Linked DNA regions of Homo sapiens: region 2 is linked to region 1. Evidence: promoter capture Hi-C in 16 types of primary human blood cells and fetal thymus (Javierre and others, 2016). All regions are on one chromosome and are shown on one strand. Each heading gives the region's core, a stretch centred on a gene start or on the middle of the fragment in contact. The rest is flanking DNA. Distances are from core to core; before and after follow the strand shown. Region 1 holds the start of CYBC1 (cytochrome b-245 chaperone 1). Region 2 holds the start of FOXK2-AS1 (FOXK2 antisense RNA 1).

Region 1 (3,785 bases), core at 1,222-3,721:
CCAGGGAGGAGGAGACATGGGAACCCACGATCACCCATCACGTGGTTAGTGGACTGTGAGTCCTACGAAGAGGTCTGAGGACCAGGGAGGAGGAGACATGGGAACCCACGATCACCCATCACGTGGTTAGTGGACTGTGAGTCCTACGAAGAGGTCTGAGGACCAGGGAGGAGGAGACATGGGAACCCACGATCACCCATCACGTGGTTAGTGGACTGTGAGTCCTACGAAGAGGTCTGAGGACCAGGGAGGAGGAGACATGGGAACCCACGATCACCCATCACGTGGTTAGTGGACTGTGAGTCCTACGAAGAGGTCTGAGGACCAGGGAGGAGGAGACATGGGAACCCACGATCACCCATCACGTGGTTAGTGGACTGTGAGTCCTACGAAGAGGTCTGAGGACCAGGGAGGAGGAGACATGGGAACCCACGATCACCCATCACGTGGTTAGTGGACTGTGAGTCCTACGAAGAGGTCTGAGGACCAGGGAGGAGGAGACATGGGAACCCACGATCACCCATCACGTGGTTAGTGGACTGTGAGTCCTACGAAGAGGTCTGAGGACCAGGGAGGAGGAGACATGGGAACCCACGATCACCCATCACGTGGTTCAAAACAAGTACAAAGGAAAATATGGTGACCTCAGAAAAGCTCATAGAGTATATTAAATACGCTGGGTGTTAGTGATTAAAAGGGGACAAAACAGACATGCATTATCTGTAAAACCAAGTACACCAGATAGAATTTGAATGGATACAAAGAAACAAAATAGCCATTAGATTTCAAGGTAATAGAAAAAAGAGAAAATATTTTGTTTCATTTTCATCCTTTTTGAAAGTCAGGCTTCCGGTTCTGGGGTTCTGGGGAGGGACGTGGAGAGCCTTACCAACCAGCAGGGACCAGGACCGGATGCCTGGAGCCCTCTTCAGATGGAGGCGGGAGCTGGTGCGGGTCTCCACCTGCAGGTACATCCCGAGAGGGCAGCACCACTCTCTACAGGAGGAGGGGTCTGGGAACAGACAGAGGCAGCTGAGCCCTTGGGCCTGCACACAGGCAGGCGCCCACGCCATCAGGCCCAGTCTGGAGGCCAAGAGCAGGTCCCCCAACTAAGTCACCTGCAGCCCCAGACACCATCAGCCAGTCTCACCTGGTCTCTGTGGTTGGGCACGTCACTGGATCCCCCAGAGACCCCGTTTCCTGTGTAAGGAAGGCCCTTTTCCGTTCACAGCGACACCGACTGCGCGGGGGCTGTTTCCCGCTCAGACTCACGAGCTACAGCTGCATCACCACCTGCCCCGTCCTGTCTGGAAACCTTATGTCCTGAGGCCGCTAGCCCCCAGCAGCCTTTAAGCTTCTAGCATCTGTGGGCACCCCCTCTCCCCTGTGCTGGCCTCCACCAAGAAAGGAACTGAAAGTCCCATCATGGCTTCCGGCCGTACTGGCTCTCGCACTGGCATGGACCAACGATCTCAGCTCTCTCTCTGCCCTCCTCCACCTGCTGAAAGTTCAGACTGCACAGTAGAGGGTCCCAAAGCGGCCAGAACCGACGAGTCACCAAAGGGGCTAATCTTCCACAGCGGAGTTCCGCACGGGCGCAGCAGCCCTGCCACTTCACCGTACGCTCCCAACACTGGCCCCAGGGACCCCGTTCTGGTAGTTTCTCAGGGCTTTCCCTGTGAAGTCAAATCAAATTTCTGACATTAAGTAGGGGGTTCAGGCTGGGCGCGGTGGCTCAGGCCTGTAATCTCAGCACTTTGGGAGGACGAGGCGTGCGGATTGTTTGAGTCACGGAGTTCAAGACCAGCCAGGGCAACGTGGCGAAACCCCGTCTCCACAGAAAATACATAAAACAGCCCGGTGTGGTGGTGTACGCCTGTGGTCCTAGTTATTCAGGAGGCTGAGCTGGGAGGATCACCTGAGGCCGGGAGGTGGAGGCTGCAGTGAGCAGAAATCGTGCCACTGGACTCCAGCCTGGGTGACAGAGTGAGACCGTGTCTCAAAAAAATAAAAAATAGTGGGTTCAAATCACACAAACCAATCCTAGATGCTGGTATATGACTGGGCTCCCTCCCGGGCCTCAGTTGCCTCATTGCTCCCGAAACACCCGGCATTCCACATCCAAATGCACACACACACGCACACTCGCGGACACAAGCACACGCGCGCTGGCAAAGCCGCCCGCGCCGCTAGTCGCACCGAGCGCTCGTTTCTTTGTCCGGATCGGGGGCGCTCCCGCCGCCGGGGCCAACCTGCAGCGGAACAGGCGCGAGGCCGCCCGCGACGGGCACGGCGGGACACGGAACAGCCGGCAGGCGGGCCCAGGACGCAGACCCCTCCCGGAGTGGGCCTAAGGGTGCCGGGACGCGCGGCACGGAGCGGGAAGGAAGTGCGGAGCCCACCCAGCCCAGCCGCCTACCGAGAGCACAGCGGTCCCCGCGCCGCAGCAGAGAGACGCGAACCGGCGGGGGCGGGGCCGCGCGCACTTCCGGGATTGGAGCGGAGCCGAGCCGACTTTCGGGGGCGGGGCCGCGCGCGCTTCCGGGATTGGGGGCGGGGCCGCGCGCGCTTACGGGATTGGGGCGGGGCCGCAAGCATTTCCTGGATGGGGCGGAGCCGAGCGGATTTCCGGGATCCGGGCGGAGCCGCAGGAGGAGGCGGGTGGTTCCTGCTAAAGAAGCCAGTTTTCTTGAAAAAAAGAAACGTGCGGGGAAACGTATCCGACAGCAAAGAACTTACCAAGGACTATGAACGTCTTGCTAACATAGAAGCGAAACTGAAGCGGTTCTCATTGCCAAAAAAGAAGATTTGAGCATGAATAAGAACAGGAATTCGAGTGAATTTAAAATCCTCAGATGCTCCAGTCTGTAATTCATAATAATGTATTTTTTAACTCTGTTCACCTTTGGAGGATGCTGGTAAGCTCACCCCAGTTTGTGGCCTGGTTAATAAAAGGAAAGCATCAAGCATTTGTCCTGCCTTTATGAAATTTACAGCAGAGTAACCAAATACTGCATGAGAAGAATTTCTCATTATAGAAGTTTTCCCGCTAATAAATGAAGAAGAAACAGTAGGATTAAAACATCACCCTATGAATTAACGGACCTAGGCAATGTCATCAATGACTGCTAATTAACATCGCAAAAAGGTCAGTTAGATATCAGAAGTACACAACACTATGAAGTAGTCTTGCCAGAAAAAATTTAACCTGAATGTGAACAAGCTTCTAGAGTGAATTACTGGAAATGTGGAAGACAAGACTGTACTAAAGGATTCTACAAGGATACAGTCAGCAATTCGAAACCTCAACCATCTGAATGGACCCTTCCGCTTGGCCAAGAGCATTCCCAAGTTATCCTGAAAAACTAGCTCAGGCAGTGATGGGAAGGGGGAGACAGACATACCTCACTCCCTCCTCCCTTTTGGAATTCAGGCACACAGCTGACCAGCATTCACATTAAAACAGATCTTGAGGTGGCCAGGTGCGGTGGCTCACGCCTGTAATCCCAGCACTTTGGGAGGCCAAGGTGGGCAGATCACGAGGTCAGGAGATTGAGACCATCCTGGCTAACACAGTGAAACCTCATCTCTACTAAAAACACAAAAAAATTAGCTGGGCGTGGTGGCGGGTGCTCATAGTCCCAGCTACTCGGGAGGCTGAGGCAGGAGAATGGCGTGAACCCGGGAGGCAGAGCTTGCAGTGAGCCGAGATCGTGCCACTGCTCTCCAGCCTGGGCAACAGAGTGAGACTCCATCTCAATAAAAAATAACAAAACAAAACAAAA
Region 2 (5,069 bases), core at 1-2,500, 140 kb after region 1:
GGCACCTCTAGGTCAACACCAGCTACCAATAAAAACTGTAACACAAAACGGCACTCACGTGGCATCAGTCCCCACTGCGGTCCACGGCCAGGTGAACAATGGTAAGACATGCTGGTCGGTGGCTCCCCGTGGCTGTGGGTACTGGGAGCAGAGCCCCTTCTCACTCGTGGTTTCGGTTCTGACTGTAACAATTTTAGCTTTTGTCTGAGGCAATGTTTGCATTTCGAAGCTGCAGGAAATCTAGTCATGCTGGGGAAGTGGTCGTGGAGTCGGCCGTCATGGGATTCCCGTGGGAGGACCTGCCTGAAAAGAGATGAGAGTTTCTAATACATTGAGAGGGAAAAATACTCTCGCCTCTTGTAGATTTCCTGGGTGTGGCCTGGAAGCGGCCTGAAACGGCGGGAGCCGCCGCGTGTCTTTTCCCTTGGCCTCGCGCGCCCTGTGGCCTGTGGCGGTGCTATGCTGCTGAGGGTGGGAGAGAGGCTGCTTTTCTGTGCGCTTTGCTCTCAGAGTCCGTCCGAGGCCGGTGCACAGAAAACCGCACGGATGTTCTGACATTGACAAGTGGAGACACCAGAACCTCCGCGCCGACACCGGGTTATCTACCTTCGCCCTGCCCTGTGGAGTGTGGAAAGGGTGGGAGTCCCTGCTGGCTGCCGAGTCAACTCTGGCATTGGGGCCTGGCTCAGGTGTGGGCTCCCGCTGCTCTGGGTTGGGTACATGTGGGCTGTTGCCGGCTGTGTGGCTGATCCTGGCGCTTGCGGGATCTCAAGCAGGCAAATCCGAAGCTACCGACTAAAACTGTCTCTGTGCCCACGACACGCTTTCTTTGAAAGAGGGTACAGGTCAGAAGGCTTTATCACGACGTTTGAATCCTTACCGAACGCTACGAACAGAGACCTTGAAACCTGCAGGTACCTCCTACTCTGACTCAGCACCACCCTGCCTCTCCCCAAATTTATGGAAGAACAAGGTCTGGAACCTTTTCTAGGGAAGACTGACTACCTGGGGTTTTTTTTGTTTTTAAGTAATAGCAACACTTGCTGCCTGTAGATAGATCGCAGAGTTTGCAGTCATCAGTTACCTGTTTGAATGCCTTCGTCCCCAAGCCCTGTGTCTCCTCCTTCTCTTCTCTCTGGGTAACTGTGGCTGTGGATGCTCTAAGGTGATAAACCTGGTGGCACTGCAGGTAGCTGGGAGGAGATGGAAGCCGGGAGGGCTGGCGATTGGAGGGCAGGCGGTTGGAGGGCTGGCTATTGGAGGGCAGGCGGTTGGAGGGCTGGCGGTTGGAGGGCTGGCGGTTGGAGGGCAGGCGGTTGGAGGGCAGGCGGTTGGCTTTCTGGTCTTAGTCACTCCCAGTCTGAAGACAAGGCAGAGGCCTAGTGATTCCCAGATTCGATATGTGTCAGAATCACCCAGAAGGCTTGGCTGTTAGAGGCCAGAGTGCTGCGTTCCCCAGAGTTCCCGACTAGGCCTGTCTGGTGTGGGGCCCAAGAATGCATTTCTGAAACAGTCCAGGTCTGCCAAGAGCCTCCGGTGCAGGTCAGAGGCTTTCTGGGTCCACCTCTCTTAGAAGCAGTTTGAAAAACCGTATCCCTGCCTGGTATAGTGCCTCACGCCTGTAATCCCAGCACTTTGGGAGGTCGAGGTGGGTGGATCACGAGGTCAGGAGTTCAAGACCAGCCTGGCCAACATGGTGAAACACCATTTCTACTAAAAAAAAAAAAAAAAAAACAAATTAGCCGGGTCTGGTGGCGGGTGCCTGTAGTTGTAGCTTCTCGGGAGGCTGAGGCAGGAGAATCGCTTGAACCCGAGTGTGGAGGTTCCAGTGAGATGAGATCATGCCACTGCACTCCAGCCCGGGCGACCGTGCGAGACTCTGTCTCAACAAAAAAAGAAAAACGGTATCCTTTTTATGTATTTAAGTTATCTGGAATTTTTCATTATAAATTTAAGCAAGTGTTTTAATTTTTCACTATTGAAAATATTGATGTTTTAAAATAAAGCTTTTACGGGATTATTTTCAGTGTACTACTGGACTCCAAATACAGACATCATGAGATGTCCACTTGCCCACGTGTGGACACACAGGCAGGAGCGGCCCAGATCCTCCCTTGTCTGTGGCCTGGTCTTTCCATCTCACATTCCCTAACAGGTTTTGTACGAGTCACATACTTTAGGCTTAAATGTCATTTATTAGTCATATCTTTTCTCTGCAGCAATAAAATATAGATATAAATATTAAAGTTTGTCTATGAGTAACAAAATTGATAAAACCCAAAAATATAACAAATTCTTATAAAACCAAAAATTAAAATGTTACTGAAGATGCCTTTCTTAGTGTATTTAGCTTTAAAGGAAACCACCTGATTCGTTCTGTATTCACTGATGGTTGCACAGTCCTAGTGTCAACACTGAGGGCCTGTTTCCACTCAGGAAGGAGAGGACAGTGTCAGCACTGAGGGCCTGTTTCCACTCAGGAAGGAGAGGACAGTGTCAGCACTGAGGGCCTGTTTCCACTCAGGAAGGAGAGGACAGTGTCAGCACTGAGGGCCTGTTTCCAGATGAACGTGAAAGTCTGTCAGTGATCTTGGCTGGGTGTGGTGGCTCACGCCTGTAATCCCAGCACTTTGGGAGGTGGAGGTGGGCGGATCACTTGAGATCAGGAGTTGGAGACCAGCCTGGCCAACATGGTGAAACTCCGTCTCTACTAAAACTACAAAGATTAGCCGGGTGTGGTGGCACATTCCTGTAATCCCTGCTACTCTGGACGCTGAGGCAGGAGAATCGCTTGAACCTGGGAGATGGAGGTTGCAGTGAGCCGAGTTCAGACCACTGCACTCCAGCCTGGGCAACACAGCGAGACTCCATCTCAAAAAAAAAAAAAAGTCTTGTCAGCACCAGTATTTCCTATTATTGCTTTCATGCTCCATCCCATAGTTTTCATCCCCAAAGCCAGTGCCCAGTTGAGCAGATGAGAGAGGCTGTTCAGAGAGAGGAGGTGGCAGATGGGCTTTAAGAAAAGACTTCAGGACCAAGAGGAGATTCTGGAAATGATTTTCCTTAAAACAGTGTCGGCTACAGCCTGGATGCTGAACACCTAGGATGAGAACCACTGCACAGGTGCTCATAATTTTGGCCTCTTGTAGTCTTTTATTTTTTATTTGGGAGGTAGTGTCTCACCATGTTGCCCATGCTGGTCTCAAGCTCCGGGGCTCAAGCAGTCTGCCCACCTCGGCCTCCCAACGTGCTGAGATGACAGGGTGAGCCACCGCCTCTGGCCAGCACGTCTTTTCATGTACTTTATGGTTATTTGTGTATCTTCTTTGAAGAAATTTTTTTTAAGTCCTTTGCCCATCATTTAATTGGGTTGTCTTTTTGTTGTGAAATTTGTAGTTCTTTATTCATATGTAGAGATTTCAGGCCTTTTCAGACATGTAGGTGTAACTCAGAGACATTGCAGGGTTGGTTCCAGACCACTGCAAAAAAATGAATATTGCAGTAGAGCTGCCAGTCACATGAAATTTTTGGGTTCCTACTATATTAAGCAATTATGTTTATACTAAATTGTAGTGTAGTGTATTACCCCAAGGAAAATGTAGTATTTTTACTGAGGAATTATGTGGATGTGGCCGAGTTTTCTGACCCAAGCATGGGGTTAGAATGTCCTGTGCAGGGAGGGACTGCACAGGCTGCCTGAGACTCTCCCAGGGGTACCAGAGGGCTCAGCACCACGAGCAGATAGGCCGAGGCTGGGCTGCCTGCCCTAAGGGGGTTCCATCCTCACCCTGGCCCCAAGGGCAGCCTGGGCCGGTTCTGCCTCTGCCACCAGCTGCTGTGGGACCCGGGGCTCAGGGCTTGGCCCCTGCGTGTGTCGTGAAGACAGTGCTGACAGATGGGAGGTGGGGCTGACAGGACGAGGGGTCAGGATGTTCCGGCCATGCACTGTAGCCCTGGCCTTGCAGGACAGCAGGTGGCTTGGTGGGATGATAGGTGAGTTCCGTGGGCAGGCGCAGGGCATGAGCTGCCAGTGTCTTCCTGGAAGGTGACTCTGGGGTTGTCGCTCCAGCTGGAGTGTACCCTCATTCCTGCTTCCATAGGGGTCTCCATGGAGGCCTCATTCAAACACAGGCGAGCCCATCCCTGGCCTGTCAGGTTCACCAGGGTGGCCCCTGGTCCCGTTGTCGCCGTTGTCCACACCCTGCCCACCTGCCAATGCTCCTGTGTCCCCTGCTCTGCTCCAGGGCCCCAAACCCTGTGCAGAGCTGGGGTGCATCATGCTGCCGCCCCATGGAGAAGGCCTGGAGGAGATGGAAGCCGGGAGGCTTCCTCTTACAGGAAGGGAAGCCCCAGAAATGTGCCTGGCACCAAGAAACTGCTCCAAGCTTGTTCCAGAGTGTGGGGAGGGCTTGAGGCCTCCCCTTTTTGAGTACATGGAAAGGAAAGCCTGGCATTTTCTGGAAACGCTCCCAAGTCTCCCTGGCAGGGAGATGTGGGAAGAGTCCAGGCGCCCAAGCTCTTGCATATTCACTTCCTCCCATCACACGTGCTGTGTACAAGCACCCTCAGAGCTCGCTTTGGGAGACCCCTGCCTCAGGGCTGCGGGTGCCGCCGTCCACACCACAGGCCCTTCTGCTTCCTGTTTCCAAAGCTCATCTCCTGTCTCTGGGCTGCAGGCGCTGTTTCTGGTTTACTGGCACAACTGTGGTTGTGTTTTTGTCAATGACTTCATCTTTGCTGCTGTTGTTTTGAGATACTGTCTTGCTCTGTCACCCAGGCTGGAGTGCAGTGCCGAGATCTCAACTCACTGCAGCCCCGACCTACTGGTCTCAAGCCATCCTCCTGCCTCAGCCTCCCAAGTAGCTGGGACTACAGGTGTGCAGCACCACATCCAGCTAAGTTTTTGTATTTTTTGTAGAGACAGGGTCTCACTATGTTGCCCAGGCTGGTTTCAAACTCCTGGACTCTGGTGATCCTCTAGCCTTGGCCTCCCAAAGTGCTGGGATTACAGGTACGAGCCAGCATACCCAGCCAGTGTTGTCGTTTTGATTTGGGAGTTCGGGGCTGAG

What was found. Contacts are between HindIII fragments. The CHiCAGO score rates a contact against its expected background, and 5 or more counts as called.
Region 2: the fragment with the promoter of FOXK2-AS1 here is called in contact with the fragment with the promoter of CYBC1 in region 1 in 1 of 17 cell types (M2 macrophages); the score reaches 5.1 in M2 macrophages.

The regions. Positions count from the first base shown.
Region 1 is chr17:82,448,281-82,452,065 of GRCh38, forward strand. CYBC1 (cytochrome b-245 chaperone 1) reads right to left here and starts at 2,472. Exons shown (of 7, transcript NM_001033046.4): 1 at 2,420-2,472; 2 at 890-1,012. The coding sequence starts at 974. RefSeq lists silencers at 813-862, 2,173-2,532 and an enhancer at 1,283-1,542. The HindIII fragment of the contact is 1,869 bases long and covers 1,353-3,221 here.
Region 2 is chr17:82,587,172-82,592,240 of GRCh38, forward strand. It overlaps FOXK2-AS1 (FOXK2 antisense RNA 1), which reads right to left and starts at 1,251. Exons shown (of 3, transcript XR_001753132.3): 1 at 1,085-1,251; 2 at 59-303. FOXK2 (forkhead box K2) reads left to right here. Exons shown (of 9, transcript NM_004514.4): 8 at 1-101. RefSeq lists silencers at 348-548, 4,622-4,916. The HindIII fragment of the contact is 9,921 bases long and covers 1-2,004 here.